Linked DNA regions of Homo sapiens: all the other regions are linked to region 3. Evidence: promoter capture Hi-C in 16 types of primary human blood cells and fetal thymus (Javierre and others, 2016). All regions are on one chromosome and are shown on one strand. Each heading gives the region's core, a stretch centred on a gene start or on the middle of the fragment in contact. The rest is flanking DNA. Distances are from core to core; before and after follow the strand shown.

Region 1 (3,044 bases), core at 230-2,729, 750 kb after region 3:
AATCACTTGAACCTGGGAGGTGGAGGTTGCAGTGAGCCGAGATTGCACCACTGCACTCCAGCCTGGGCAACAGATTGAGACTCCATCTAAAAAAAAAAAAAAAAAAAAAAAAAAAAGTGGTAAGTACTAGAGGGGAAAAGAGATAGAATCAGCATCGATGCCTTGAAGCTGGAGGTCATGGGTAGGCAGAATTTTATTCACTCTGAGATCTCCCACACATATCTCCAGAGAGCTCTAGGGTTCTGCCCTTTCTTTCCAATTCTCTGAGTCAAATCTCCAGCCAAGGGCTTAGCCACGACACATCTGGACAAATGTCACCATGGGTCCTGTTTCCATTTCTTCCTCTCTGAATCAATGCTAATATCCACAGATTCAAGAAACACTCAATGATCATCAACAATTTGCCAAGTACAGGGGCTGTGGGGGACACTGAGATAAGCAGGCACAATTCTCACCCTCAAGGAGCCTGCATTTCACCAGGGAAGTCAGACACATACACACCTAATCAGAATTCAAAGCAAAAGAAAGGAAGTGATCTGCTAGCAATGTGAGCAAAGGTTGCAAGGTTTTTGAACCATGGTCTGTAGTTTTCAAAGCACTCTCATGGGCAGATGATCTTGTTTGGTGGTCACGTCATGGTATTCCTCCTTCCAAGCTTTCACAGTGCACTACTGGACTCACAGTTCTTCCCCAGTGACCTTTCATGTCAACAGCACAGGCCTTATCATGTCCTAGTTCCAACCCCGACTCTCACTAACCTTGTGCTAACCTTGCATCCTTGGACAAGTTCCCTTAGCCTCCCTGAGCCTGTACTGTCATCTGTGAAATGGGGCTGACTTCACCTGCCCCACAGTAAATTAGATAATATATGTGAAGTTCTACCAGAATGCATGGCACAAAGAAAGTCCTCAATGACAGCAGCTATGATGTTATTCTTCATTTCAGAAGGTTAGACTCCCAGAGTTCTAGCCCATATGAAGCTGCTTGCCACCCTGGTGGGCTGAGATTTGACTCCACATTTCTGTGTCTGGGTAAGGAAGGCAGGATTACAAACCTATCATACTAATAAACAGTAACAACCACCACCACAGCACAAGCAACCAAGAATGGCTTGCAGGGCTGGGCCCAGGACATGCCTCGCAGAACTCTTGCCCATGACTATGACATCAAGGCTCTGTCCTGACTTTGAGGTTCCTTCCCTGAAAGTCCTCACCCTTTTCATAGACTTGTTGCTGGCCATGGGTTTGCGGGCCCCTAGACTCTGCATTTTTCAATTCCAGTCCCTGGACTCTAGACTCTACTTTACAGGTCTGCAGCCATCTCAAATTAAGGGATTTGGTCCAAAAGTAAATGCAATTCGTTCCATTAGATCCTCTTTCCTCTGGGATCTGTGCTGAGTGTGGTAGAGGAGATCAAGATTAAGCAGACACAGCCCTTGCCCTTTGGGTGTTCATCGTGTTATAGAGAAGACAAGCCACATAGAAAACTCCTAACCAATATAAGGCAGAGAGTGGGGCCCATAAGAACGGGCTGTCTAAAATGCTATAGGGAGTCTAGGAAGAGCTCCTGCCAACAGCAGGGCAGTGTGTGTCTCGCTCATCTCTGCATGGGGCTTAGGAACGGCTGATTGCTGTCAGGCGGCCAAGAATGCCAGATGCCGCCTGCCAATCAGAACCCTATGCAAGGGTTCAGGCCAACGGGCCACTCTGGCTGTCTTAATTAAGCCCTAATTAAGCATTCTATCCGGAAACCTCTTCTCCCTCCTGTAGGGCTGCCCAGTTTACAGCAAACAATTCAGGGAGCCGGGTCAGCTGTTAGGAGGTGGCAGCCAGTAGGAGTGGCACCAACAGCTGTGAATGAATGCCAACTCGATTCAGAGATCGCCGAAAACCGCAGGACCCAGGAACTCAGAAATTCAGCCCTAATTAAGCATTCTGCCCTCTGTCCCTAACCTCAGTAGAGAAGTGTCCAGTTTGAGTCACCCCACTTTAAAAGTACATAGAGATGATCAGGGCTGGGAGTTCTGCCTAAGGAAAACAGGAAAACACTATGCAGCAAGATGCTCCCCGAGACACGAGCTCTAGGAACGAAAAACAGAACTGGCCACAGAAGCATGCTTACTGCATGTCTTCTTCCTTGAATTTCCAAAAAATGAGAACCAGAAACCATGTAACATTCCAGAAAAAGCCTTTTCTGGATTTAATGTGAGTATAAACCACAGGCCATAAAGCCATATCTATGCTCTGGGTACAACTGTAAAAGTGATGCGGAGCGCAGACAGGCGAGAACACAAAACAAGCTTGATCTGATGGATGCTGGGTTTAGGCAGCCAATTCTTTTTGTTTCTATTTTAATTCCCATTGTTACTGTTTGTGCAGCAATGATACCTCTTTTAAGGATTAGAGAGATGATCTCTCAGAAGAGAATCAAAGCTTTACAGGTTGAAGCAAAGGTTCTCCAGGGAGTGGCAACAGGACAGGTGAACACACACCAGTTCGAGCAGCAGCAGGTGCACACCTCGTTTTGCCCTGGCACTGCGCCCTGTGTGGCTCTCAGCAAGTCTCTTCTTCTAATACCTCCATTTCCATCTCTAGATCTAGAAGGATTCTAAGGCCCCTGCCACCTCCAAGTTCATAATTCTGACTGGTGGAGAGGTCAGATCAGAGGTCTAATCTATTCTCTCATGTGCAGGCACTCACCAGCCCATGCTGGGACACACCTGTGGCACCTACATCATGAGCACCATTAAACACCCTACTCTCCCCACTTCCCAAGCCCAGAACCCAGGCATCCACCTGAGAGTCTTTGTACCCTCCCCCCATATCCAACCACTTTCCAACTCCTGTAAATGTGACCTCCTTAACAATCTCTCAAGTTTCCACTTCTTTCTATCCCCACCACCATCACACACATTCAGGCCACCATGATTTGTATTTTTTTTTTTTTTTTTAGACAGTCTCACTCTGTCACCCAGGCTGGAGTGCAGTGGCACGATCTCGCCTCTCCGCAACCTCCATCTCCCAGTTTCAACCGATTCTTGTGCC
Region 2 (3,152 bases), core at 214-2,713, 840 kb after region 3:
TTATATCTCGTTTTCTGTTACCTAGTGTCTTGGTTTACTCCCTTGTTTGATGGAGCCTGTTTTCTCTGGCAGTGTCCTCCTGAGAAAGGTGGCATAGGAGGTGAATGACCTTGCTGGTCTAAAAATGTCTTTTTTTTTTTTTTTTTTTTTTTTTTTAACACGGAGTCTTGCTCTGTCAACTAGGCTAGAGTGCAGTGGCATGATCTTGGCTCACTGCAACCTCCACCTCCCAGTTCAAGCGATTTTCCTGCCTTAGCCTCCCAAGTAGCTGGGATTACAGGCACGTGCCACCACGCCTGGCTAATTTTTGTATTTTTAGTAGAGACAGGGTTTTGCCATGTTGGCCAGGCTGGTCTCGAACTCCTGACCTCAGGTAATCTGCCCACCTCAGCCTCCCAAAGTGCTGGGATTATAGGCATGAGCCACTGTGCCTGGCCTTAAAAATGTCTTTATTCTATAGTTTGATGAATATAGGGTTCTAGATTAGCAATCATTTTCCTTCAGAATTTTAAAGCAAAGCCTCTAGCTTTCAGTGTTGCTGCTGAGAAATCTGAAATCATTCTGATTCCTGATTTTTTTGTGGGACTAAGTATTTCTTCCTGAGAAACAAGGATCTTTGTTCCTAGTATGCTTATATTCCATGATGACATCATTTAGTGTGTGTTTATTTTAATACACTGTGGTGGGCACTTGGTGAACCTATTTAAACTTGAAACTTGTATCTTTATTTCTCAAATTTTGTAGGTTTTAAAATAATTTTATTATTTTTTATGGGTATGTAAGTGTATATATTTATGGGGTGCATGAGATATTTTGATACAGGCATACAGTACCTAATAATCACATCAGGATAACGGGATTATCTGTCACCTCATTTATAATTTATTTATGTTACAAACATTCCAGTTATACTTTTAGTTATTTTTAGATGTACAGTAAATTATTATTGACTGTAATCACCCATTATGCTATCAAATACTAGAACTTATTCATTACATCTAACTATATTTTTGTACCCATTAGCCATCCCTGCATTCCTTCCCTAACCTTTCCTAGCCTCTGGTAACCATCATTCTACTCTGTCTCCATGAGTTCAGTCGTATTAATTTGTAGCATCCACCAATGAATGCTTATAGGTTTTTATTGATTTCCTCCCCTTCTTTTTCCTTCTGCTCTCTTTTTAGAACAATAGTACTTTTAATGTTTTCTTTTTCCTTTATATTCTATTTTATCTGTAATTGCTTTTCTCTTTTTTTGTTTCATGTTAGATGCTTTCCTTGGTTGTCTGCTCACACTTAAAAATTGGGAACTAACATGGATTAAAGGCCTGGAGTGGAGCTTGTTGATGTTGAACTTTGCCAAAGGGCCATCTATTGGGCCATTTTTGTTGAGAAAACTTTTTGCGTCTGTATCTTTAGTTATTTCCCATTGAGCTGGTCATTGCTCAGAGAACAAAGACTCTTCCAATCTCCCAAGTGCTGAATGAGGCCCTGCCAACGTTCTGGGATTCAAAGGAATAGGGCTGTGGTGAGGCTCAGGACAGACAGGTGTGTGTGTGTGTGTTTCAATATCCAGTATGTATTTGCTCACTGCGTCTCTGTTTTGAGTATAGTACCTCTGCCCAAACTGCCTGGCATCCCATAATCTAGAGACCTTCTATTTTACCCTTTTCAGAAAATAAACTTTTTATTTTTTGGAGACAGAGTTTTGCTCCAGGCTGGAGTGCAGTGGACGATCTTGGCTCGCTGCAACCTCTGCCTCCCTGACTCAAACGGTTCTTGTGCCTTAGCCACCTGAGTAGCTGGGATTACAGGCGCACACCACCATGCCTGTCTAATTTTTGTAGTTTTAGTAGAGATGATGTTTCATCATGTTGGCCAGGCTGGTCTCGAACTGCTGGCCTCAGGTGATCCGCCCATCTCAGCTTCCCAAAGTGCTGAGATTACAGGTGTGAGCCACTGCACCTGGCCTAAAAAAAAAAACTATCATTTTGAGAGGGTACTGTGTAATGGAGGCTGTTTTGCTGCATAGAGTTGCAGAGAGCATCTGATTACTTAAACCTTGCACCAATTCTTATTTTAATGTCTACCCTTCTACCCCTTATTGCTAGAGGCACCTGAAGCCACTAGTTTCTGAGCCTTTTAGGGATTCCATGATATAAATTAGGTTGTGAGTTTTTGTTGTTGTTTGGGGGTTCTTGTGGGTTTTTTTCTTTTTCTACCGCTGGCTCAGAATTCAGTTTTTCAGAGTCTACTACATTATTTACTGTTGATCTACCTATTTTCCAGCTTCTAACGTTTTATTCCTGTTTCCTCTTTTCTTCCATCCTTTTAGGTTTATATCTTAAAACAAAAACCTTTACCGTCATTTAATGGGATTTTTGGGAGGGAGTGGAGGTAGGTATACGTGCTTCATCTACCATCTTAACCTGGAAAGCATGTATTTTAATTCTGTGGTTTTGTATTTATTTCTTAAATTAAGAAGGTGTAGTGTATGGCACTGTGGTCATATGAATACTGGCTCTAAAGACAGGCAGACTTGATTTTGAATGTTGGCTCCAATACTTACGAGATGGGTGATTTTCAGCAAGTGAGCTCCGAATCTCATTTTCTTTAACTATAAAATTAGGATAATAGAAACATCTCTCTACTTCAAAGTGTCGTAAGGATTAAGTGAAAAAATGCAAGTAGAGCAGCTGGCACAATTGCTTGACATTTGGTAAATGTTATTAATGGCTAGTCTTTGGTATAAGGCATTTAGAAGTGATTTGTGCTGGCATTCACAGCATAGACAGATCTCATTCCTATTTCCAGATGCTCTGAGATAGCATACTCATCCTCTAATTGTGTACAAACTTCAAACTTACCAAACACTTAAGTTCATTATCTAAAAATAGCCTTAACCAATCAATAATAATGCCATTTTACAGGTGGAGAGGTTGAGACTGCAAGTTTCAGTGGCCAATGAGTAGCAGCTGGCCAAGGCCTAGGGGACTTTTTTTTTTTTTTTCATTTAAAAAAATTATTTCTAGTCAGTCTGTGCTTATCCAGGGGACTTTTAATGTTTATTTATTCCTTGTACCCCATCCTTACATGCTTTTCTTGGAGGAAAATAGTGTAATTGTTACCCTGGATTCTAGTGTATGTTCAGGC
Region 3 (3,278 bases), core at 635-3,134:
ACAATGTATTATAAACATGTTTTCATTTCTATTAACCCATATTTTCTTTCTAATTGTTAATGCCTGCATAATCCTCTATTGTTAGATGTACCATAATTTATTTAACGATTGCCTCTCGGTGGGCATTTAGGTCGTTAACTTTTTTTATTTTTATTTTATTTATTTATTTATTTTTTGCTATAGTAACCAACTCCAGGATGAAATCTTCACACATAGTGATCATTTTTTTAGGAGAGATTCCTGGAAGAGCACAGAGGGGTCAAGCGGTGAGAGCACTTTAAAAGGCCACTCCTGGTAAAGACAGCAGCCTCCAGGTTGAAAGTCACTGTTGATAGGTTCTGAGAGCTGCGCTGAGTGCATTACCAACATTGTTATATTTATTCCTTACCACCACCCCTTCATGGTGCCTAACCGCCCCTGCTCTGTGTGGCTGATTGTAAGGTAAGGCCTGGCGTGGACCAGGCAGATGGCCCTCCTCTGACCACCACATAAAGTGGCCTCAGAAGAGGCTCCTTTCTGGGGATAAGAAGACTGCAAACTGGGAAGGAACTGGGCTTGAAAAGCAAAATGAACCCCACCCAAGAACGGTGTAGCTGGTCTTCCCAGGCTGCAAGAGGCTTTCTCCATCTCCAGGAGTTCAGCAAAGAAAAAACAATAGAGCACAAGACACATGAGGGGTGGCCAGTAAAGGCAGGAAAAGTCTCCTATAAAACCTGCTCAGCGAGTCCCTCCCTCCATCCAGTGCATTTACCCAGCAACACATCAAATCCCAGCAGCCAAGACTCTCTTAGGTTTCTCGTCTGGGTGCCCTGCCAGAACTCAGGCAGGATGGTGTGCACAGAGCCTGGCCCAGAGAAGGCGCAACGGCGGCATGAATAACTGACTACAAGAAACTGCATCTTTCCAACATGCATTCCCCAGTAAGCCACAGGTACACTGACCCTTGTGCACCAAGACTTCATCAAAGCATTATTCGTATTAACCAAAGGATGGAAAATAAGTGGTTAAATAACTGCAACTAAACCCTGTGGAAAGGCCACTCTGTATGAACTCCAAAATATATCACCATATCTCATCACAACAAAGTCACTGTGGACGGAGATGTACCATGACTTTATGCAGCATTAAGAAACACACTCACAGAGCCAATGAACTATGCTCCCATTGATTGTATAAGAAACCCAGTTTCACAGATGACAAGAGGTGGGGAAACTGTGAAACACTGTAAGTGCAAAAACCAAGTGCAGACTAATGTGTATGGCACGCTACTCTGTGTGTGTGAGAGAGAAACAGAGTGTGTGTGTTTTAAAGGAAGGGGCTTTTTTAGGCACATGTACTTTTATAGGCATAGAGAAAATTTCTGAAAAGATATACAAAAACCCGATAGCAAGAGTGGCCTCTGGAAGCCGAGTTGGAGGATGGGGATACAAGGTGGTAGGGTAACCCTCTTTTCATCCTTAGATGTATATGTAAAATCTACATTTTAAACCATATATTCTCTTTATAAAATAAAACTTTGAAAACTACTGAATGCAAAATAAAATTAAATAAAATAGCGCATCCTTCTGGGAGGATTTACGGGCATACTATCTGGAGCCAGCCTTGGATCCGGAGACCGTACGGTTATCCAATCCTGACTCTGCCATAGCGACCTCGGGCAAGTTGTCGCCCCGACTGGGTCTCGGTTCCCTCAAGAGTCCAATCGGAGGTCGGAGAGCTGCTCTCGGGGCGACCCTCCAGCTCGGAGACCCGGGCCGCGGGCACCGCGCGGGTCCCGGGCTGGAGCAGCGGTCTGCGGGCGCCCCGCGGTGCAGGCCCGGCCAATCAGCGGCCGCGGGGCGGGAGCGGTGACTGCTCGGCGGGCGCGGAGCGGAGCGCGAAGCAGAGGCGCCGCCGCTGTCCCGGAGCAAGCCATGCCGCGCTTGTCTCTGCTCTTGCCGCTGCTGCTTCTGCTGCTGCTGCCGCTGCTGCCGCCGCTGTCCCCGAGCCTTGGGATCCGCGACGTGGGCGGCCGGCGCCCCAAGTGTGGTCCGTGCCGGCCAGAGGGCTGCCCGGCGCCTGCGCCCTGCCCGGCGCCCGGGATCTCGGCGCTCGACGAGTGCGGCTGCTGCGCCCGCTGCCTGGGAGCCGAGGGCGCGAGCTGCGGGGGCCGCGCCGGCGGGCGCTGTGGCCCCGGCCTGGTATGCGCGAGCCAGGCCGCTGGGGCAGCGCCCGAGGGCACCGGGCTCTGCGTGTGCGCGCAGCGCGGCACCGTCTGCGGCTCCGACGGTCGCTCGTACCCCAGCGTCTGCGCGCTGCGCCTGCGCGCTCGGCACACGCCCCGCGCGCACCCCGGTCACCTGCACAAGGCGCGCGACGGCCCTTGCGAGTTCGGTGAGTCAGGGTCGGGGATTGGGTGGGTAGAGAAGGAGGGATTCCAACCCTCTGGGGTGTGGAGCGAAGGATCCCCCTGCCCAGTGGTGGACGGCGCTGCCTGGCACTCAGTTTCCCCTTAGGGAGCAGTATTTCATATCTCTCCTCGTGCTCAGAGAGACTGGGGCGAGAATCCTTGGAGACGCCACTCACTGTGCTAGTCGAATTTTTGGTGAGCCTGCTACCCCTTTTGGTACTTAAGTACCTGCTGATGCAGTCACTTATTTGTAGGCATGGTATGTTTGCCCAGCAGGAGACTGGGAGTTAAGGAGGGGGATCCGAGTTCCCAGGTATCCAGCGCTAGGTGGATTGTTTGAATGGGGAGGAAGGGAAGTTGAGGTTGGGGGAGGAAGGGAAGTAGAGGATAGGGGAGGAAGGGAAGTTGAGGATGCAGGAGGAGGATGAGTTCCAGACTGGGGAATCAGTAGTCACCAGGCCACAGCACCAGAGCACCAGGGCCCCCGGTGTGGGAAGGGGCTGAGCTGGGATGCTGAGGGAGCTCCATCCAGGAGAAGTAAGACCTTTGGAGACGTAAGGTCTGAAAAGATTGTGGTGCTATTAGGGGCAGACTCAGGTTTCGTGCTTCTAAAACATATATAATTTGGAGAGTCCTGCCTTAAGTAAAGGAATAGAACTGCTAGGGACTTAGAAACTTATTATGAAATGCTAGGGACTTAGAAACTTAAGCTTCATTAACATCACAGTAAAATAATCTCTGAGTGCTATAGTTGCCCACCCTCTTTATGTACCTTTTGAAAACCAAACAAAAAGAAACCAAAACGTTAGCACTGCTTTACCGGCTTCCTAAGCATGAGTGTATTCCACCCACTAGGTTTTGAAGTGCCGCTGTGTACTTTGCCTGGAGT
Region 4 (3,097 bases), core at 52-2,551, 780 kb after region 3:
GATAAATCAAAGTAGAATTCTTTAAAAAGCCCAAGTACTCCACAGGGAGGCAGGAAAAAGAAAAAAGAGGAGTGAGAAATGGGGAACAAACAGATGGGAGAGAAAGCTTCCAAGACTTTCCCCTGTGCAGAAAGAAAAGAAATAACAACATAGCAGAGTTAAGTGCTAACATTTTAGTAATTATATTAAATGTAAATAATCTAAATACACCAATTAAAAGACAAAGATTGGCAGAATGGATATTTAAAAATATATCCTGGTGAAATTTCTGAACTCCTAGAATAAAGAGTAAATGTCATGAGCTTCCAGGCAATGTGAATAGCTTACCGAAGGAGGAAACAGAGCCCTCTGGAATTATGGATCCCACAAATCGTCCTTGCCAAATTTTATTGAGACCTAATATTTGTTAGGCACTGTTCTAAGCGGTTTATCTCATTTTAATAACCCTATGAATTATATATTAATATCCCCACTTTATAAATGAGAAAACCAAGGCCAAATGTTCCCCTGGTCACTCAACTAGTAAGAGCTTGGATTCAAATCCAAGAAATCTAGTGAAAGAAACTAAATAATAAGTCCAAGTCAGCTATTGAAGGGGAGAGGGATGATAGAGCTTCCAGGCAGAGAGAACAGCCTATGGGAAGGCTCTAAGGATGGAAAGGAACACCTATTAGATGCTATGTATTTTTAATATACTAACACAAAAACTCCAACAAGCAAGTATCATGTGTCTTTTTTGCAGACAAAGAGACTCTACATGGTTAAGTAACCTGCTCAAGATCATCCAGATAGCTGGTGTTGGTGATTGAGTCAGAATTTAAATCTGGGAGGGTTCTGCTACCCTCCTCTGTTCTGTCAACAGGTGAAAACAGCTTTTGGAGCATATTTCCCATGGTGATTGTCTTTCTCACTCCAATAGTTTTGCTGTAGTGATCCAGAAATTTAAATTTTAAAGAGCAAAGGGCCTGTCCTACCTTTCTAGGTTATTTTGGTCAAGCCTGCTCTGGGTCTGAGAGATCTTCACCTACAAAACATAGAATTGGACTATATCAGTGTTTTTCCAACTTTGGTAGGATTCTATATTCAACTCAAATCCTACTAAACAGAAGCCCCTTGTAGAGTACAGGCATAAGCAGAGTAAATCTAAATGAAAGTAACTGGGGGATGTTGGGGAGGCACTAGACTAGCCTGGACCCCCTCCAGCTAACACATTCCCTAAATTCTGGAAACAGTGCATGGACAGTCCCCAGACGCAGGGGAAAGTCTTGGAAGGTTCCTCTCCTATCTTCGGTGTAGGATAGGGAGAGGGAGGGATGATCTAGATTTTCTTAAAAACAAGGCTTTATTCATGTTTTGTTACTATGTACTGTGTACTGCAACACTGTGTCAGCCTGTTCTTTGAATCAGAGGGGGATGTTCTGGAAAGGATCTGGGCCGTGGAGCCAGAGGTAGCTTGAATGCCAGCTCTTGTTAGCTTTATGACCTTGGACAACTAATGTAACCTCTCAGTTTTCTCATCTTAACACACAGATAATACTGACCTTGAAGGGTGTTGTGAGAATTAAATTAACTAGTAAGGATAAAGCACCTAGCACAGGCTCTGGGGTGTTGCAGGCATTCAATAAATGGCAGCTATTGTTATACATTTTGAAACTCCCAGATCTTGACACTTTTAAGTCTGCCTTGTCTTTTGAAACTGGTGGAGTTTGGGTCTTTCTTTCTTCCTTTTTTCCCTTCATTCTTTTTTAGGCAAATTGACTGGTATTAAGAAAGATGATACTTCTTGCAAAGGAAGTTTCCATAAAAATAACATGGTCTGTAATCCCAGCACTTTGGGAGGCTGCGGTGGGCAGATCACTTGAGCTCAGGAGTCCAGGACCAGCCTGGGTAACATGGCAAAATGCAGTCTCTACAAAAAATACAAAAGCAAGCTAGGCCTGGTGGTGCATGCCTGCAGTCCCAGTTACTCAGGTAGCTGAGGCGGGAGGATGGCTTGAGCCCAGGAGGTCAAGGCTGCAGTGAGCCCAGATTTTACTGCGCTCCATTGCACTCCAACCTGGGTAATAGAGCGAGACCCTGTCTCTAAATAAATAAATAAATAACATGGTGACTTATGAAAAACCATGTACTTATTGATGCCACTGAAGACATTATGTGTTATTTTCATAATCTGGATCCTGATTAATGACCAGTACACATGCTGATTAACCTGAAACCAAAGAGCAAATACTCACAAAATAATTCATTGTTAAAACATAATTTTTTTTCAAAAATAAAGGATGATTTTATGAGTCTACTATTGACAGACAAAGATAACCTTACTTCACAGCCTTCCTGTCTTAAAATAAGTAATGTCTGGTGCATCATTATGTAGTTGGAGGCCTAGCCCGACCTTCCAGAGCGTAGGAAGCCTAGGAGTATACTTTACTGAAGACTAAAATCATGGCAGATTTCCTACAATGGACCATGAATTCCTGCCACCTCCCATGAAGCTTAATGGGAGAACATTTCAGAGCATATGGTACTTTGTCAACTGATACTAATGTGTCCATTAGTGCAGCTCCAGAGGGAATTTCAGTCTGTGCCCAGAGAATGGTCACTTGGGGAACAGAAATAGCTACTTATTTAACCCCTTCTTCCCCCATAACTCTGTCCTCGGTTCAGCCACCCCCTCCTGCTTCAGCCCTACCAGGAACAGGCATAGAATAGGGGTATGCCATTAATGGCATCTGTGTTACCTACACTGAACCATAATCCCTTAACACGCACCACCTTGATGTCCTTTGGAGCCCTTATGCAGACAATATCTCATTTGACCTTCATAATACTCCTGAGTGAGGTATCGGTATCCAATTTCACAGCTGAGGAAAACAGGAACACACAGCAGTTAAACCATTTGCTTGAGGCCAGAGGTAAGTGAGTGACAGAGCTATGCTTAGTCCCAGTGCTATTCCCCAAACTCATGCTGGCTGTATAGAGGCATCTACTTGGCCTGACTGAGTTCTGTGAATTGTTTTGCAAGGTGTGGCCCAGATTAAGTATATGCAATTCTGTTCACTCATTCAAGTAAAATTTTATTTTTTACTTGAGCTCAGGA
Region 5 (3,376 bases), core at 282-2,781, 820 kb after region 3:
ATCCGGGTGAAAGAGGATGGTGGTTTGAAGCAGGGAAGTAACAGTGGAGGAGTGAGAAGTACTCTGATTCTGGATATGCTTTATGAAGGTGCAGCAACAGGATTTGCTGACCAGATTGGATGCAGGGTTTGAGAGAAAGAGATGAGTCAAAGATGACTCCAAGGTTTTGGGCCTCAGCAACCTGAAGGCTGGACTTGCCGCTACCTGAGATGAGGAAAACTGAAGGGGAGGAAGTTTCTTGGGGGCAGAGGAACGAGAAGGGAATATTAGGAGCCAAGTTTTAGACATTTTAAACTTGAGATACTTTTTTTTTTTTTTTGAGACGGAGTTTCGCTCTTGTTGCCCAGGCTGGAGTGCAATGGCGTGATCTGGGTTCACCGCAAACTCCGCCTCCCAGGTTCAAGTGATTCTCCTGCCTCAGCCTCCCAAGTAGCTGGGATTACAGGCATGTGCCACCATGCCCGGCTAACTTTTTGTATTTTTAGTAGAGACGGGGTTTCTCCATGTTGGTCAGGCTGGTCTCGAACTCCTGATCTCAGGTGATCTGCCCGCCTCAGCCTCCCAAAGTGCTGGGATTACAGGCGTGAGCCACCATGCCCGGCCTGAGATGCCTATTAAACATCCAAACAGAGATGTTGAGTGGACAGTTGGATGTTTGGTCAGGAATTCAGGAGCACGGTTGGACTGTAATAATATTCATCTGTAAAACTGGGATAATATAATAACACCTACATAATAATGCTTATTATTGGGAGGATTAAACAAGACAATCCATGTGAAACTTTCAGTGTACACAGGGCCTAGCACACAATACGCCCCCAATACATTTCAGCTATTATTCTTATTGAAATTTAAATACTCTTAGTATTTTTATCATTACTATGAAGTTATGAATATGGTTGCTTTTAAGATTAATAAGTTGTTTCTGTGTCAATTCCCAGGAATGATTTGCAAAAGAAAACTAAGTCTTGCCAGGCACAGTGGCAAGTGCCTATAGTTCCAGCTACTTGGGAGGCTGAGATAGGAAGATCACTTGAGCCCAGGAGTTCAAGTCCAGCCTGGGCAACATAGTGAGACCAACTACCCTCCCCCCATCTCAGGAAGGAAGAAAGAAAGTGGAAGGAAGGAAAGAAGGAAGGAAGGAGGGAAGGAAGAAAGGAAAAGAAAAGAAGGAAGGATGTAAAGGAAGGAAAGAAAGAAAGAGAGAAAGATAGAAAAAAAAAAAGAAAGAAAGAGAAAGAAGAGAAAGAAAGAAAGTAGGCAGTGCCTTTGAAATTGGTTTCTAGGCCCCAGAGTTCAAAACTTTGAAGAGTTGGGCATGCATCCTAGTCCTTATAAGTTATGCCATGTTTCTTAAATAATCAGTATGTTACTTCATCAACCCAGAATTTATGTCAAGCTTTGAAAAGGGTTTGACATGGAGAATGAGGCAGTTTATCAGGAGAAATTGAATACGAGCAAGGACCCTGTGGGGAAGACATTCCCAGCCTGTTCACGTAGCCTTCGTGACACAGGGTTTAAATGCAATGCAGCATGAGAACTGACTACCCCGTCTCGCCTTCAATAGCTATAGATGTTATCGCTGGCCACAAGTTTATCTGGCTCCTTTTAAAATTGATTCACAAAAGCCACGACCCATGTCTTCCTGAAATAGCAAGCTTCTCAGAGGAACTTCCCTTGAAGAAACACACTCTTGCTATCGTCTATTAATTTATTCAGTGATCTTTAGCTGTTTTATGTTGGGGAAGTAGAAACAAGAGCTGGTATGGTTTTATTACACATTTCTAGATCTTTGAAGCAGCGAGCTTCTAACATCAAAACCTAAACCATGAGGTTTCTCATTATTTTCACATCTCTTTGAATTTTGACTATAAATCCCCGACCCTGTAATTCTCCTTAATATCTATGACAGGCTTGATGCTCAATAACTACCTATTAAGAATCCTCCTAATCTCCATTTATATGCAAAGGAAAGAGGTGTTGAATGGTTCAAACAATCCAAAAATGCTTGTGTAACAAATAGATGACTAAGGTCACATACAATCACAGACCTTGTTTGATGAATTTAGCAATGGCAACACAACCACAAGGATACAGGTGGATGTACCAGTGAGAGAGAGAAGGAACAGTAACACAAAGGAGGCGCTTTTTCCCCTAATCCTTGTTTTTTTTCCTTAAATGAGGTCACATAAACTGAACTGACTGCTGCTAATGAGGAGGTCATTGCTCAATTAAACTTCATGAAACACCACTTTCATTCCTTTCCCCGGATTCTTTTGTTTCTAATGATTTTTTTGAGATGGAGTCTCACTTTGTCACCCAGGCTGGAGTGCAGTGGTGTGATCCTGGCTCCCTGCAACCTCCGCCTCTCGGGTTCAAGTGATTCTCCCTGCTTCAGCCTCCCAAGCAGCTGGGATTACAGGCACGAGCCACCATGCTTGGCTAATTTTTGTATTTTTATTAGAGACGGGATTTCTCCACGTTGGCCAGGCTGGTCTCGAAATCCTGACCTCAGGTGATCCACCCGCCCCGGCCTCCCAAAGTGCTGGGATTATAGGTGTCAGCCACTGTGCTCAACCATGTTTCTAATGATTTCTACATTCACTGTCACTATGCTTCAAGCAGTGGCTTCATGTGAAAAAATAATAAAAACAAAACCCTTCTCCCTTCTCCCAGGAGTCAAGGACTAACCCCTCAGGGTCTCATAGCCCAGAATGACATGTGAAGGGCCAAGGACTCCCTTACATCTATGGTTCCCTGCAGACACTCCTACTCCAGCCTCTCTCTGGCTGTGTGTCCCAGAACTCTAGGTGGAGGAGAGCTAAGCAATCCAGGAACTGATCATTCTGAACTGAGCCAGTCAAGCTGATCTGTGGCAAGAACTTAATAAATTTCTATCCTGTATCTGTTTTTCTGGTTTAAAGGGAATCTTTTTTGTTTTCTATTAATTTTAAAGTAAATTTTAGTTTTATATTTCCAGCCAAGCTAAGAGGGAAAAGAAAAGAGTTTTGTGCATATTCAGCGTGGTGGTGCCAGAAGAAAACGCTATTTAGCAAGAGGTGCTTTATACACCAACCTCTCTTTGGCTTTAAAATTTAGAACTCAGGGCCACCAGAAAAATACAGGTATCTTTTTGTCCATGGGCAGTGTGACCATAAAGTTTGTCATCCAACCCAGAATACTTCTGAGAGTGAAACAAGGCAATACAAAGAATGCCACCAGTACAACAAGCAAATCAGACATCACTTTCATCACCAAATAAGTCCCTAGTCTACAACAATTTTTTCATCACTCAAGAGGCTTGATCCAATAGATGGTTCCATGGCTGGCACACAGAATAAATGCCCTCTTCCACCGGGATAAATATGCCCTACTG
Region 6 (3,085 bases), core at 542-3,041, 950 kb after region 3:
ACTCTCAACCTATTTATGTCTTTATATTTAAAACAGGTTTTCTATGCACTGCATATAGTTGGGTCTTTTTTTTAATTCAGTCTAACAATCACTGCCTTTTAATTGAAGCTTTTAGAGCATTTACATTTAGTGTAATTATCAACATTGTTGGGTTTAAATCTACCATTCAGTTACTGTTTTCTATTTGTGCCATTCCTTTTTTATTCCTTTTTCCTGCATTCTTTTGGATTATTAGAATTTTTTTAGTATTTATTTTATTTCCACTATTGGTTATTAGATATACCTCTTTAGTGTTTTCGGTGGTTGATCTAGAGAAGGGGGTGGCAAATATGACTGTCTTAGTCGGCTTGGGTTGCTATAACAAAATACCACAGAGTGAGTGACTTAAACAACAGACCTTTATTTTTCACAGTTCTTGAGGCTCTAATATCCAAGATCAAGGCGCCAGCAGATTCAGTTCCTGGTGAGGGCCCCCTTTCTGCCTTGTAGACAGCCACCTTCTTGCTGTATCCTCACACGACGGAGAGAGAAGCTCTAGTGTCTCTTTCTCTTATTTATTTATTTATTTATTTATTTATTTATTTATTTATTTTGAGGCAGATTCTTGCTCTGTTGCCCAGGCTGGAGTGCAGTGGTGCTATCTCGGCTCACTGCAACCTCCGCATGCTGGGTTCAAGCGATTCTCTTGCCTCAGCCTCCTGAGTAGCTGGGATTACAGGTGTGCACCACCACACCTGGCTAATTTTTGGGTTTTTAGCAGAGATGGAGTTTCACCATGTTGGTCAGGCTGGTCTTAAACTCCTGACCTCATGATCTGCCTGCCTCAGCCTCCCAAAGTGCTGGGATTACAGGTGTGAGGCACCACTCCATCTTCCTCTTCTTTTACAGCCACCAATCCCATCCTGGGTGCTCTACCCTCAAGATCTCATTTAAAGCTAATTACCTCCCAAAGGTCCCACCTCCTAATACCATCACACTGGGGGTTAGGGCTGCAACACATCAATCCAGGTGGAGGAGACACAAACATTCAGTTTGTAACAATGTCCCAATGGCTAAATTTGGCCTATTTTTATATAATCCTTGGGCTAAGAATGTTTATACATTTCTTAAGAGTTGCAAAAACAAAACAAAACAAAAACAAAAGGAGGAAGAAAAATATGTGATGAATATGCAACAGAGACCACTTGCAGTTTGCAAAGCCCAAAATATTTACTGTCTGTCCCTTTATAGAAAATATTTGCTGACCCCTGCTCTAGGGTTTATAACATGCATCTTTGGCCAGGCATGGTGGCTCATGCCTGCAATCCCAGCACTTTGGGAGGCCGAGGTGGGTGGATCATCTGAGGTCAGGAGTTTGAGACCAGCCTGACCAACGTGGTGAAACCCCATCTCTACTAAAAATACAAAATTAGCTGGGCATGGTGGCACACACCTGTAATCCCAGCTACTAGGGAGGCTGAGGCAGGAGAATCGCTTGAACCTGGGAGGCGGAGGTGCAGTGAGCCGAGATTGAGCCATTGCACTCCAGCCTGGGCAACAAGAGTGAAACTCCATCTCAAAAAAAAAAAAAAGAAAAAAAATGCATCTTTAAAATATCCGTGTACATAGAGATAATATTACACCATTTCACATACAATGTAAAAGCCTTTCTTTTTTTTTTTGTTTTTGAGACGGAGTCTCGCCCTGTTGCCCAGACTGGGGTGCAGTGGCACAATCTCGGCTCACACAGCCTCTGCCTCCCAGGTTCAAGTGATTCTCCTGCCTCAGCTTCCTGAGTAGCTGGGACTACAGGTGCCTGCCACCACTCCTGGCTAATTTTTTTGTATTTTTAGTAGAGACGGGGTTTCGCCACATTCACCAGGCTGGTCTCGAACTCCTGACCTTGTGATCCGCCCACCTCAGCCTCCCAAAGGGCTGGGATTACAGGCGTGAGTCACCGTGCCCGGCCAAAAGCCTTTCTTTTAAAGAAATTGAAAAACAAACAAAATCTTATTTTTATTATTCAGCTTTAGTCAGAATTTGAATGTTTCCCATCTCTGTGTGATTTTTCAGAATTGTTCTTTGCCTGGCCTATTTTAGAGTTTCATCTTACTCATACACAGTTTGGTAATCACTAACAGACTGTGGAAGATTCCTAGGAAGAATTTCTGGAAGGCTTTTTATGCCTAGGTGCCTCTTCTCCAGTAATTTACCCTGCAAATTCCTGCTGACTCACTCTCTTGGAATTCCAATCTCTCTCCTCAAATCAGTGGGAGACTACCATGCTCTGTTTGAACTCTCCTTCCTGTTTCGTTGTCCAGAAAGTGTCTCCGGGAAGAAAACTGGAGCAATTGTAAGGCTCCCTTGCTTTTGTTCCCCCCTCTCTCAGGAATCACTGTTTTGTGCTGCCTACTGTCCAATGTCTAAAAACATTATTTCACCTTTTTTTTTTCTAGTTTTCTAGGTGTTTACTCACGGAGGACAAGTACGGGAGCAGTTAGTTACTCTGTTATAGCAAAAGTGAAAGTCTCCTCATTCTTTTTTTTTTTTTCTTTCCTCAATTTTTTTTTTTTCTTTTTGAGACAGGATCTCACTTTGTCGCCCAGGCTGGAGTGCAGTGGCATGATCATGGCTCACTGCGAGTGCAGTGGCATGATCATGGCTCACTGCACCCTTGATGTCCCAGGCTCAAGTGATCCTTGCACCCAGGCTCCCAAGTAGCTTGGACTACAGGTGCACGCCACCAAACCTGGCTAATTTCTGTATTTTTTGCAGAGATGGGGCCTCCCTATGTTGCCCAGGGTGGTCTTGAACACTTGGACTCCAGTGATCCTTCTGCCTTGGCCTCCAAAAGTGCTGGAATTACAGGCATGAGCCACTGCGCCCAGCCTCCCTCAATATTTTGTTTAACAACTTCATAGATTCAATTGTATGGATGTACTCTAATTTATTTAGTTAGTCCTCACTGATGAATTGTTTGTTTTGGATTGTTTTTTAATACAAATAATGCTGCAATAAATAACTGTGCATATGTGATTTTATACTTGTGTATATGTGTGGGATAAAATTCTAAAAGTGTGATCTCACTGAGTAAGAGATTATTTGT
Region 7 (3,177 bases), core at 9-2,508, 770 kb after region 3:
TTAAACCCATTGTTTAAACCTACTTTAAAATCACTGTTCTTTAAGAGAAATGAGAAGCGGAGGTCTCTAAGCAGTGCAGTCTGAATATCTTCCTTACTAGATGGTCCTTAAGGTCCCTGTAAGACCTGAGCTTCTTCCAGTGCAGCTCCATCGGATGATGACCAGGAAGGGGGCCACCTGAGGTCAACTTTGGATACACTGTTCTATCCATCTTTCTCTTCTTTATCTCCTAGTCACCCACTAGGGCTCGGTTCAAATGCCAGTCCCTCCCAGAAGCCCTCCTAGATCTCCCTGCAAGGCATGGCCAGCCCTTGCTAGGCTCCCAAGGGTCTCTGCAAAGCACAGCACCCTGCCCAGCACTGACTTACTTCCAGCCGCAGGTGGGGCAGGGACTGTCTGATTCATCTCTCTCCTCCCTCCCCGCCTCTCCTCCCCAGCCCCTATCCCCACACAGGCCTTTCTTAGCAAAGCACATTGAAATGAGTGCAGCAGCCATCTAGGAGGATGCCGTCGGACAGGAATCCTGGGGGCAGCAATGAGTGGAGAGTCTGGAGCTGCTCAGTGTCCAGAACTTCCCAGGCCACTACCCTCCCCCTGCTTTCTCTCAGCTCCACTACTAGCTTCACCAGACGCAGCTCTTCTGCTTGCCCCTCAGTTTTGTTTTTTTTTTTTTTTTTTTAGTGCTTGAAAAGTCAACTGCAAACAAAGCAGCGCACTCTCTTTGTGGAGAAAAGCACATTTTAGTGGGAGTTGCATTTGGAGAGCCCAGAAGCCAGCAGCAGACTGGAGATCACACTTAAAGGACCATGGAACTTCTGAAACAGGCTAGTTGTAGGGCAAGAAGATGATACTACTATGCCCTTACAGGGTTGTCAAGGAGCATTTCCTGATTTTTTACAGAGTATTTGGGCACTGAGAATATAATTTCCCTCAAATTCAGTGAGCCAATCTCAGTCTAAATTAGTGGGAAAATGTGAAGACATAAGTCTTCCACTATGTGTCCCTTCTTTGTCCAGAGCACATTCACTGTGGGATCTTCCCTACGTCTGAGAACCGGCAATGAATATTTTAATAGCCACAGCTTCTCCTTCCCACTGACAAAACCTCCACTGGACTCGCCATAGCATGCTGGTGGAAATGAGGGTATGCACCAGAAAGACCTGAGCTTTCTCCTAGGCAGCCTAATCCCTGAGGGCCCCACCCACATCTGTACAACAGGAGTGATAGGAACAGCCCCGGCACCCTTCAGAGCAGCAGCCAGGATGCTGAAGGAAGGAGGAGACAGAAGACATGTGGCCTGAGGATCTGAGGCCAGTGACCCTGGAGAGCTGGGTTCAAATACAATAGAAACAAAAGGGAGTTGCAAAAGTAGAGAAAGTAGAGAGCCAATGGCTGAATGGCGGCCACCCTAAAAAGATATCCAAGTCTTGGCTGGATGTAGTAGCTCACACCCGTCATCCCAGCACTTTGGGAGGCTGGGACAGGAGGACTGCTTAAGCTCAGGAGTTTGAGATCAGTCTGAGCAACATAGCAAGGCCTCATCTCTACTAAAAATAAAATTTAAAAATTAGCCAGTTGGTGTGCGCCTATAGTCCCAGCAATTTAGAAGGCTGAGGTGGGAGGATCACTTGAGCCCAGGAGATCAGCACTGCAGTGAGCTTGATCATGCCACTGCACTCCAGCCTGGGTGACAGAGCCAAACCCAGTCTCAAAAATAAATAAATAAATAAATAATTCCAAGTCCCAATCCCAGGAACCTGTAAATGTGATCTTATTTGGAAAAAGGATTTTTACACCTATAATTAAATTAATGATCTTTAGATGACGTGCTTATCCTTGGATTATCCAGATGGACCCTAAATCTCAGGACAAGTGTCCTTATAAGAGTGAAACAAAGATTTGAAACAGACAGGAGGAGGCAACGTGACCAGGGAGGCAGAGACTGGAGTGATGCAGCCACAAGTCAAGAAATGCCAGTGGGCACCAGAAGCTGGAAGTGACAAAGGAAGGATTCCCCTTAGAGACTCCAGTGGGACAGCAGCACTACCAACATCTCGATTTTGTACTTCTGGCCTCCAGAACTGTTCAAGGACACAGTTCTGCTGTTTTAAGCCAAGATTGAGGTGATTTGTTACAGCATTTACAGGAAAAAATACAGCACCTAAGAAGTAGTCAGACAGATGAGGGATCTGAGTCCCAGAGAGGGGGCTCACTCACCCGACCCCACGTCAACCACTGGGCCAGGACACTCGGGTCTCTCTGACGCCAAAGTGCATGCAGTTCCGTAGTGGCCCAGTGCACAGCTCAGAAGGGGGACCCACCGGGACCTAACTGGCCTCAGGCTGTGCTAACGCAAATATAGATTCCGAAGTGAGGCTGCAGTGGGCTTGCTCCTGTCTGGGCTGATCAGACCCCCACCTGCACAGCGGTGTCCCATTCTTAGCTTTTCAGGGGGCCAGATAAAGTGGGCATTCTGCCTAAAGAAGTGAAGATGTGGGGGCCTGATCCCTGTCTTTGAAGGTCCAAGTGGCCTAACTAGCTGTCATAGGGAAGAAGAAATGGATTTTTTGTGTGTGGGGCTTCAAAGGACAGGATCGGGCCAATGGGGCAACCATTGCCGAGAGGAAGATTTTTGGCTTGGAATAATGAAGAACTTTGTAATAACCAGAGCCAACTGAGGATGGAATAGGAAGGTGGTGGGGGTTGGTAGGTCCAAGCAGAGGGAGGCTGGGTATGCTAGGGGAATTCCTGCACCACACAAAGGCTGTACTTGATCATCTCCGGAGCTGGCAGTCTTGTTTGAGGGTCTATGCTGGTAGCTAAAATATCTGGAAACATATGTGTGAATCTAGGTTTTCAGCACATAAACAAGGCACACTCTCACTAAGACACTTATTACGCAGTTTTTGCAAAGAGCTAAGTACTGAAAATAACCAGGAATGAGCTTGAGAAAGAGACCGTCTATTCTTCCATCTCCTATACATAAAATGTCCCTCACCCCAGGGAGAAAGAAAGAGGCCAAGTATGTATCTCCACAGAGACATCATCTTCTAACCAGACCAGGAACTAACAGCACATTCACAGGTACCAGGGGAGCCCTGGACAGTCTGGAGTGGTGTCTTTTTCCAGGGAAAGCCAGAGAGAACAGAGACTGCAGCTACTAAATAAATTATTTTT

The links. Contacts are between HindIII fragments. The CHiCAGO score rates a contact against its expected background, and 5 or more counts as called.
Region 1: a fragment that was not itself captured here is called in contact with the fragment with the promoter of IGFBPL1 in region 3 in 2 of 17 cell types (endothelial precursors and M0 macrophages); the score reaches 5.2 in endothelial precursors.
Region 2: a contact is called between a fragment that was not itself captured here and the fragment with the promoter of IGFBPL1 in region 3, in 1 of 17 cell types (endothelial precursors). The highest score is 5.2, in endothelial precursors.
Region 4: a fragment that was not itself captured here is called in contact with the fragment with the promoter of IGFBPL1 in region 3 in 3 of 17 cell types (endothelial precursors, M0 macrophages and M2 macrophages); the score reaches 6.1 in endothelial precursors.
Region 5: a contact is called between a fragment that was not itself captured here and the fragment with the promoter of IGFBPL1 in region 3, in 1 of 17 cell types (M0 macrophages). The highest score is 6.1, in M0 macrophages.
Region 6: a fragment that was not itself captured here is called in contact with the fragment with the promoter of IGFBPL1 in region 3 in 1 of 17 cell types (M2 macrophages); the score reaches 7.2 in M2 macrophages.
Region 7: a fragment that was not itself captured here is called in contact with the fragment with the promoter of IGFBPL1 in region 3 in 1 of 17 cell types (endothelial precursors); the score reaches 6.7 in endothelial precursors.

Annotation. Positions count from the first base shown.
Region 1 is chr9:37,675,324-37,678,367 of GRCh38, reverse strand. All of the region lies in intron 1 of FRMPD1 (FERM and PDZ domain containing 1), which reads right to left. Among named protein-coding and RNA genes, the nearest start is that of FRMPD1, 26 kb to the right of the region's middle. The HindIII fragment of the contact is 1,644 bases long and covers 658-2,301 here.
Region 2 is chr9:37,584,433-37,587,584 of GRCh38, reverse strand. No RefSeq gene overlaps it. Among named protein-coding and RNA genes, the nearest start is that of TOMM5, 6.6 kb to the left of the region's middle. The HindIII fragment of the contact is 4,406 bases long and covers 1-3,152 here.
Region 3 is chr9:38,423,060-38,426,337 of GRCh38, reverse strand. It overlaps IGFBPL1 (insulin like growth factor binding protein like 1), which reads left to right and starts at 1,884. Exons shown (of 5, transcript NM_001007563.3): 1 at 1,884-2,373. The coding sequence starts at 1,914. LOC105376041 (a long non-coding RNA gene) reads right to left here and starts at 1,727. Exons shown (of 8, transcript XR_007061487.1): 1 at 1,588-1,727. RefSeq lists an enhancer at 1-839. The HindIII fragment of the contact is 4,043 bases long and covers 1-3,101 here.
Region 4 is chr9:37,639,885-37,642,981 of GRCh38, reverse strand. It overlaps a transcript of FRMPD1 not described here. Among named protein-coding and RNA genes, the nearest start is that of FRMPD1, 9.5 kb to the left of the region's middle. The HindIII fragment of the contact is 2,386 bases long and covers 109-2,494 here.
Region 5 is chr9:37,606,236-37,609,611 of GRCh38, reverse strand. It overlaps a transcript of FRMPD1 not described here. Among named protein-coding and RNA genes, the nearest start is that of TOMM5, 15 kb to the right of the region's middle. The HindIII fragment of the contact is 259 bases long and covers 1,402-1,660 here.
Region 6 is chr9:37,471,670-37,474,754 of GRCh38, reverse strand. No RefSeq gene overlaps it. Among named protein-coding and RNA genes, the nearest start is that of ZBTB5, 7.8 kb to the right of the region's middle. The HindIII fragment of the contact is 3,362 bases long and covers 111-3,085 here.
Region 7 is chr9:37,657,418-37,660,594 of GRCh38, reverse strand. The region is part of intron 1 of FRMPD1 (FERM and PDZ domain containing 1); the gene reads right to left. Among named protein-coding and RNA genes, the nearest start is that of FRMPD1, 8.1 kb to the right of the region's middle. The HindIII fragment of the contact is 4,057 bases long and covers 1-3,177 here.